Linked DNA regions of Homo sapiens: region 1 is linked to region 2. Evidence: promoter capture Hi-C in 16 types of primary human blood cells and fetal thymus (Javierre and others, 2016). All regions are on one chromosome and are shown on one strand. The core of a region is centred on a gene start or on the middle of the fragment in contact, and the rest is flanking DNA. Distances in the headings are between cores, read along the strand shown. Region 1 overlaps GABPB2 (GA binding protein transcription factor subunit beta 2). Region 2 holds the start of VPS72 (vacuolar protein sorting 72 homolog).

Region 1 (3,706 bases), core at 967-3,466, 96 kb before region 2:
AGCTCACTGCAGTTTTCAACATCTGGGTTCAAGCAATCCTACTGCCTCAGCCTCCAAAGTAGCTGGGAGGACTACAGGCATGCAGCACCATGCCCAGCTAATTTATTTTTGTTTTTATTTTTTGTAGAGAATAGGGTCTCGTTGTATTGCCCAGCCCAGGCTGGCCTTGCACTCCTGGCCTCAAGCAATTCTCCTGCCTCAGCCTCCCAACACTGACAGGTGTGGGGTTACTGTGCCTAGCCAGTTTTCTAATTTTTTTTTTTTTTTTTTTTTTTTTGAGATGGAGTCTTGCTCTGTCGCCAGGCTGGAGTGCAGTGGCGCAATACTGGCTCACTGCAACCTCTGCCTCCCAGGTTCAAGCGATTCTCCTGCCTCAGCCTCCGGAGTAGCTGGGACTACAGGCGTGCTCCACCACACCCAGCTAATTTTTATATTTTTAGTAGAGATGGGGTTTAACCATGTTGGCCAGGATGGTCTACATCCCTTGACCTCGTGATCCACCCGCCTCAGCCTCCCAAAGTGCTGGGATTACAGGCGTGAGCCACCGCACCCAGCCATTTTTTTAAAATCATATTTAAAAAAAAAATACAGATGAGATCTCACTACGTTGACCAGGCTGGTCTCAGACTCCTGGCCTCAAGTGATCCTTCCATCCTCAGCCTTCCAAAGTTCTGGGATTACAGGCATGAGCCATTGCTCCCAGCCTAGTTTTCCAATTTATTATTATTATTATTAATGGTTTTTGTTTTTTTTTTTTGGAGACGGTGGTCTCACTCTGTCACCCAGGCTAGAGTGTGGTGGTGCAGCCTCCACCTCCCAGGCTCAAGAGATTCTCCTACCTCAGCCTCCCCTTTAGCTGGGACAACGGGCATGTACTACCACGCCTGGCTAATGTTTTGAATTTTTTGTAGAGGCATGTTTTTTCACCATGTTCCCCAGGTTCATCTTGAACTCCTGAGCTCAAGCTTTTCTAATTTTTTAAAGGCTAAACAGACTTACTGATTTTTCTTCTTTCCGTTCCTGAAGGTATTCTCTGCACTTATGCCTATTTATTCAGGCACTTGGCTTTCTGTTAATAAATGCAACAAAAATCTGTTCTTTCTCTCTTTGTCTTCCATCTGTTTAATTTCCCATTGATGTCCTTAGAGGACCCACTCGTTGAAAGCATTATGTCTGTCAGCATTTAGGAGAATTTGAGAAATGTTTTTCCCTTTGATATTCCTTAAATGTGATCTAGATTTGAGTACGTAATCTCTATGGAAATCCTCTGTATTTGATGATGGGATGTTGCACCTGTGCTACTATAACCGCTGTTTGTTGAAAAAAATGCTTTTCTGTGACAGAATGGTGCAGATGTGAATGCCAAGGACATGCTGAAGATGACAGCTTTGCATTGGGCCACAGAGCGCCACCATCGAGATGTCGTAGAGTTACTTATCAAATATGGAGCTGATGTCCATGCTTTCAGCAAATTTGATAAATCAGCCTTTGACATAGCTCTGGAGAAAAACAATGCTGAGATTTTGGTCATCCTCCAGGTGTGGTTCTTTTTATACTCTCCAGAATGTATGTTAATTGAAGTTAAGGATTTTTTTGTAGGAGCTGAATCAAAACTGAATTTTCCCTATTTTATTAAAGTAGCACTTCTAATATGTCTCAATCTTGTGACTCAGTGTCATTAGTATCTTTAAAATACAGCTATGTATAGAATATATATTTGTGTGTATATATGTATACGCATATATATTTTTTATATTTTTTATATATATTTTTTAATATATATATTCTATAAAGCCCTGAATTAATCATGGTGATTAAAGAACCATGTTGTGGCTAGTACCAAAAACATTTATTTGGCTTTAGAATGTCTTTTTCTCCATGAAAATTTCCCTTTCTAATTAAACTTGACTTGGGACAATATTAAAAGTTACTTGATGTTTTCTGAATATTCATCAACTGATGTGAGACAGTATACAGATGCTCCTTGACTTATGATAGGGTTACTTTGGATCCATTTATGATGAGTTTATGCAGGTGTAACCCCATCATAAGTCAGATCACTTTCACACCATGGCAAAGTTGAAAAATTGTAAGTTGAACCCTTGTAAATTGGGGACTATCTATGAAGCTCTAAAGCATATTGAGTGATAAGGAAGCCACTTCAGAATTTAAAATTAACTGTGATGATTTCGTCCTTTTTTTTTTTTTTTTTTTTTTTTTTGAGGCAGAGTCTCACTCTGTTGCCCAGGCTGGAATGCAGTGGCATGATCTCAGCTCACTGCAGCCTCCATTTCCTGGGTTTGAGGGATTCTTCCACCTTAGCCTCCCGAGCAGCTGGGACAATAGCCACACACTACCATGACCAGCTTATTTTTGTATTTTTAGTAGAGACAGGGTTTCGCCATGTTGCCCAGGCTGGTCTCGAACTCCTAACTTCAGGTGATCCACCTGCCTTGGCCTCTCAAAGTGCTGGGATTACAAGTGTCAGCCACTGTGCCGGCTGTGTCCCATTAATTTCTGTTTCCCACCCCCGACCCCGAGATAGAGTCTCACTCTGTTGCCCAGTGCAATGGCACGATCTCGGCTCACTGCTTGGATTCAAGTGATTCTTCCTCCTCAGCCTCCTGAGTAGCTGAGATTACAGGCACCTGCCATCATGCCCAGCTAATTTTTGTATTTTTGTAGAGACAGGGTTTCACCATTTTGGCCAGGCTGGTCTTGAACCCCTGACCTCAGGTGATCCGCCTGCCTCGGCCTCCCAAAGTGCTGGGATTACAGGCGTGAGCCACTGCGCCTGGCCTGCCCATTAATTTCTTAAGCCAGCACTGTACATCAGGGAACAATAGGACAGGGGATATAAAAATTAACAGGACATGGGCCAGGCGTGGTGGCTCATGCCTGTAATCCCAACACTTTGGGAGGCCGAGGCAGGTGGATCACCTGAGGTCAGGAGTTCGAGACCAGCCTGGCCAATATGGTGAAATCCCGTCTCTACTAAAAATGCAAAAAAAATTTGCTGGGCATGGTGACGTGTGCCTGTAATCCCAGCTACTCGGGAGGCTGAAGCAGGAGAATCACTTGAACCTGGGAGGCAGAGGTTGCAGTGAGCCAAGATCGCGCCACTGCACTTGAGCCTGGGTGACACAGCAGGATTCCATCTCAAAAAAAAAAAAAAATTAATAGGACATGAAGTGTTGAAAGCATGATAAAAGTAAAGACAGGCAAGAAAATATTATAATATTGCATAATAAATAGATATCTAGTAAGTGCCATGGGAGCACAAAGGAGGGAATAGTGGAATCTGAACTGAATATTGAAGTAGGCAGAGAAGTGAGAAAACTATATTCTAGCCTAGAAAAAGAGCAAATCAAAGACACAGAGGTGTGAAAGAACGTGGAATGTTCAAGAAAAAGTAGTTGAGTGATGAGAGAATGGGCAAAGGAAGTAGAGTTTGGGAGTGGCAGATGCTAAGCTTGAAAGTTAGGCTGGATTCTGAATGTAGGGATGCTTTACAGCGTGTGAAGGAGTTTGAACTATTATGTGGGCGATGCATTTGGATAGAAGTTTTTAAATAGAGGACTGATATGACTAAATTTGGTTTAAAAAGATGATTGTTTGGAATGTGGCACACAGATGAGAGAGACACTTAATGCTAAATAACTATACGGTGACTTTCATTAGGCCAGGCAAGGGCCAATGAGAACTT
Region 2 (3,587 bases), core at 136-2,635:
TGTTTTAGTCCTTATCACACATTTTTTGTTTGTTTTTGAGACGGAGTCCTGCTCTGTCGCCCAGGCTGGAGTGCAGTGGTACGATCTCGGCTCACTGCAACCTCCTCCTCCCAGGTTCAAGCGATTCTCTGCCTCAGCCTCCTGAGTAGCTGGGACTATAGGCGCACACCACCACGCTTGGCTAATTTTTGTATTTTAATAGAGACAGGGGGTTTTACCATGTTGGCCAGGATGGTCTCGATTTCCTGACCTTGTGATCCACCCGCCTCGGCCTTCCAAAGTGCTGGGATTACAGGCGTGAGCCACTGTGCCCGGCCAAAGCCACTGTGCTCGGCCTATCACACAGTATTTTAACTGTTAACCCAGGCAGTTACCCCACTGGGGCATGGAGTATGTAAGGACAGAGCACTGTTTTTAATATTCTGTTTCCCTAGAGCCTAAAACAACCTATTACCGATGGCATGCTCTGGGTACTCAACACATTTAATAAACGGGTAGATTCAACTAATAAAAATTTAGCAAGTGGCAGCCCAGTCCGGACACCTCACACATAATGTTGAACAAAACAGACCATCTCTAACTTTATACAGTTTACAATGCAATAGAAAAGCATAAGCAAGTAAGCAAACCAAATCTAATTGCAAATTGAAATATGTTCTGTGGAAGAAATAAATGGGGACACTTGTTAGGATAGTCAAGGAAGGGTTATCTTCCTGAGAAAACATTTACACTGAGACCTGAAAGCTGAAAAAGAAGTGGGCTAAGCTCCTCTACTTTTGGAGCGGTTCCTTTCCATGTCTCAGGTGAATAATCCAGCAGTGGGCCAACGAGTATACATCGAGCAACTGTCTACTACTATGTGTGTGCCTCGTGTATGCTGGACGTCAGAAGTACAGTGAAAGATGCAACCACGCAAGTATACGGTAGGTTTCTGCCGTTCTCTGTTCTCTGGAGTGCCTCCGGAGAGCTTCTCCGTCTCAGGCCCCTTTGACCCCATCCAGAGCTCTCCCTTCTAGGACTCCACACTATCCGTTCCCCCGCCTCGCCCCCCGGCTCCGATTCACCCACCCAACTCGAGTATCAGCTCCCAGAGCTCCTCTCTATTCCCCGCCCTCTTCTTCTTTGTCCGGGGTTTCTCCCTTCAGGGCTCCTCTTTGCCTCCTCCCCTCCCTTTTCCCAGGCCCGGATCTTGCCTCTGTGAAACCCCCATAAGTCGTCTGGTAGAACTCATCTTCCTCCTCTGCCTCCAAAAGCCCAGAAAGCCGGTTCCCAGCGGTCTTCCGGGGTGCCCGGCCCCCAGCCAAACTCATACCGCCTACCGAGACTGCGCCGCCACCTGCAGCCCCTCACCAGCTCGGTTTTGGGAGCTCGACGCTCGACATCACTACCTGCGGGTGGCCACCAGCGGCGGAAGTCGGGCGTTTACAGGCAGAAGTAACAGAGTGTCGAGAGACTCCCAGTCCCACCCTCTAAACCCTCTTTACTCTTCAGCCTCTCCTACTCCTGCGCGGATGCTCTAGGCCGCTTGCTCTAGTACCCAGCGATCTCCCTTGCTCAATGAGTCCACTTGGTGGTACGAAGACCCCCATAACCCTAAGTCAACACATTTTATTTTATTTATTTTTATTTTATATATATATATGGTTTTTTTTTTCCGTAGGGACGGAGTCTCGCCTCGCTCTGTCGCCAGACTGGAGTGCAGTGGCACGATCTCGGCTCACTGCAACCTCCGTCCCCCGGGCTGAAGCGATTCTCCTGCCTCAGTCCCCCGAGTAGCTGGGATTACAGGCGCCCGCCACCATGCCCAACTAATTTTTGTATTTTTAGTAGAGACAGCTTTCACCGTGTTGGCCAGGCTGGTCTCGAACTCCTGACCTCAGGTGATCCGCCCGCTTCGGCCTCCCAAAGTGCTGGGATTACAGGCATAAGCCTGCGCCCCCAGCTCACATTTTCTTTTAGAAGAGGTCATTCTCTCCGCTCCAGTCCATTTTCTACACTGCTGCTAGTAGGAAACTTTCTAAAAACCCACGTTTTGCCACTCCTGTCCTCAAACATTTTTAATGGCTCCACATCATCTACAAGATAAAGTCAAAAATCCTTGAGGAAGGAAGCATAGTATTGTGGTTAAAAACACAGCCATAGACATTTATCCAAAGGAAAGGACATAATTCAACCTGAGGAAGCCAATTTAGGAGGAAAAAAAAAAAGGAAATCAGTATATCCAAGAGACGTCTGCACTCCATATTTATGCACCCCCATATTTATTGCAGCACTACTTAGAGTAGCCAAAATAGGAAATCAATCTCTGTGTCCAACAACAGATGAATAAAGGAAATAGGGTGTATATACACAATGGAATACTTTTCAGCCATTAAAAAGAAGAAAATCCTGTCATTTGCAGCAACATGGATGGAACTGGAGGACATGTTAACTGACTTAAGCCACGAACAGAAAGTTAAAACACTGCATGTTCTCACTCATATGTGACGCTTTTAAAAAGTTGATTTCATAGAAGTGAAAGAACAGAGGATACTGGAGGCTGGGAAGAGCAGGGGGAAGGAAGGGACAGGGAAAGATTTGTTAAAAGACACAAAATTGTGGCTCACACCTGTAATCCCAGCACTTTGGGAGGCCGAAGGGGGTGGATCATGAGGTCAGGAGTTCACGACCAGCCTGGCCAAGATGGCGAAACCCCATCTCTACTAAAAATACAAAAATTAGCTGGTCGTGGTGGTGGGCGCCTGTTATCCCAGATACTCGAGAGGCTGAGGCAGAGAATTGCTTGAACTCGGGAGGCGGAGGTTGCAGTGAGCCGAGATCGCGCCATTTGCTCTCCAGCCTGGGAAACAGAGCAAGACTCCGTCTCAGAAAAAAAAAAAAGACAAAATTGGGCCTGGCACAGTGGCTCACACCTGTAATCCCAGCACTTTGGGAGGCTGAAGCGGGCAGATCCCGAGGTCAAGAGATTGTGACCATCCTGGCCAACATGGTGAAACCCCGTATCTACTACAAATACAAAAATTAGCTGGGTGTGGTGGCGCGCACCTGTAGTCCCAGCTACTAGGGAGGCTGAGGCAGGAGAATCGCTTGAACCCGGGAGGCAGAGGTTGCAGTGAGCTGAGATTGTGCCACTGCACTCCAGCCTGGCAACAGAGCAAGACTCCATCTCAAAAGAAAAAAAAAAAAGACACAAAATTACAATTTTTTTTGAGACAGGGTCTCTATTGCCCAGGCTGGAGTGCAGCAGCAGGATCATGGCTCACTGCCTCCTTGACCTCCTGGGCTCAAGCTGTCCTCCCACCTTGGCTTCCAAAAGTGCTAGGATTACAGCTGTGAGCCACCACACTGGCCCCCAATTACATTTGTTTGTTCGTTTGTTTGTTTGTTTGAGATAGGATCTCACTTTGTCACCCAGGCTGGAATACAGTGATGCAATCACTGCTCACTGCAGTCTCGACCTCCTGGGTTCAAGTGATCATCGCACCTCAGCCTCGTGGGTAGCTGGAACTACAGGCTCGTGTCACCACGCCTGGCTAATTTTTTGTACTTTTTGTGGAGATGAGATTTCATCATGTTGCCCACGGTGA

Evidence for each region. Contacts are between HindIII fragments. The CHiCAGO score rates a contact against its expected background, and 5 or more counts as called.
Region 1: a contact is called between a fragment that was not itself captured here and the fragment with the promoter of VPS72 in region 2, in 1 of 17 cell types (megakaryocytes). The highest score is 5.2, in megakaryocytes.

The regions. Positions count from the first base shown.
Region 1 is chr1:151,091,849-151,095,554 of GRCh38, forward strand. It overlaps GABPB2 (GA binding protein transcription factor subunit beta 2), which reads left to right. Exons shown (of 9, transcript NM_144618.3): 4 at 1,344-1,538. Among named protein-coding and RNA genes, the nearest start is that of GABPB2, 23 kb to the left of the region's middle. The HindIII fragment of the contact is 2,507 bases long and covers 964-3,470 here.
Region 2 is chr1:151,188,812-151,192,398 of GRCh38, forward strand. It overlaps VPS72 (vacuolar protein sorting 72 homolog), which reads right to left and starts at 1,386. Exons shown (of 6, transcript NM_005997.3): 1 at 1,194-1,386. The coding sequence starts at 1,310. RefSeq lists enhancers at 1,361-1,430, 1,471-1,530. The HindIII fragment of the contact is 16,139 bases long and covers 1-3,587 here.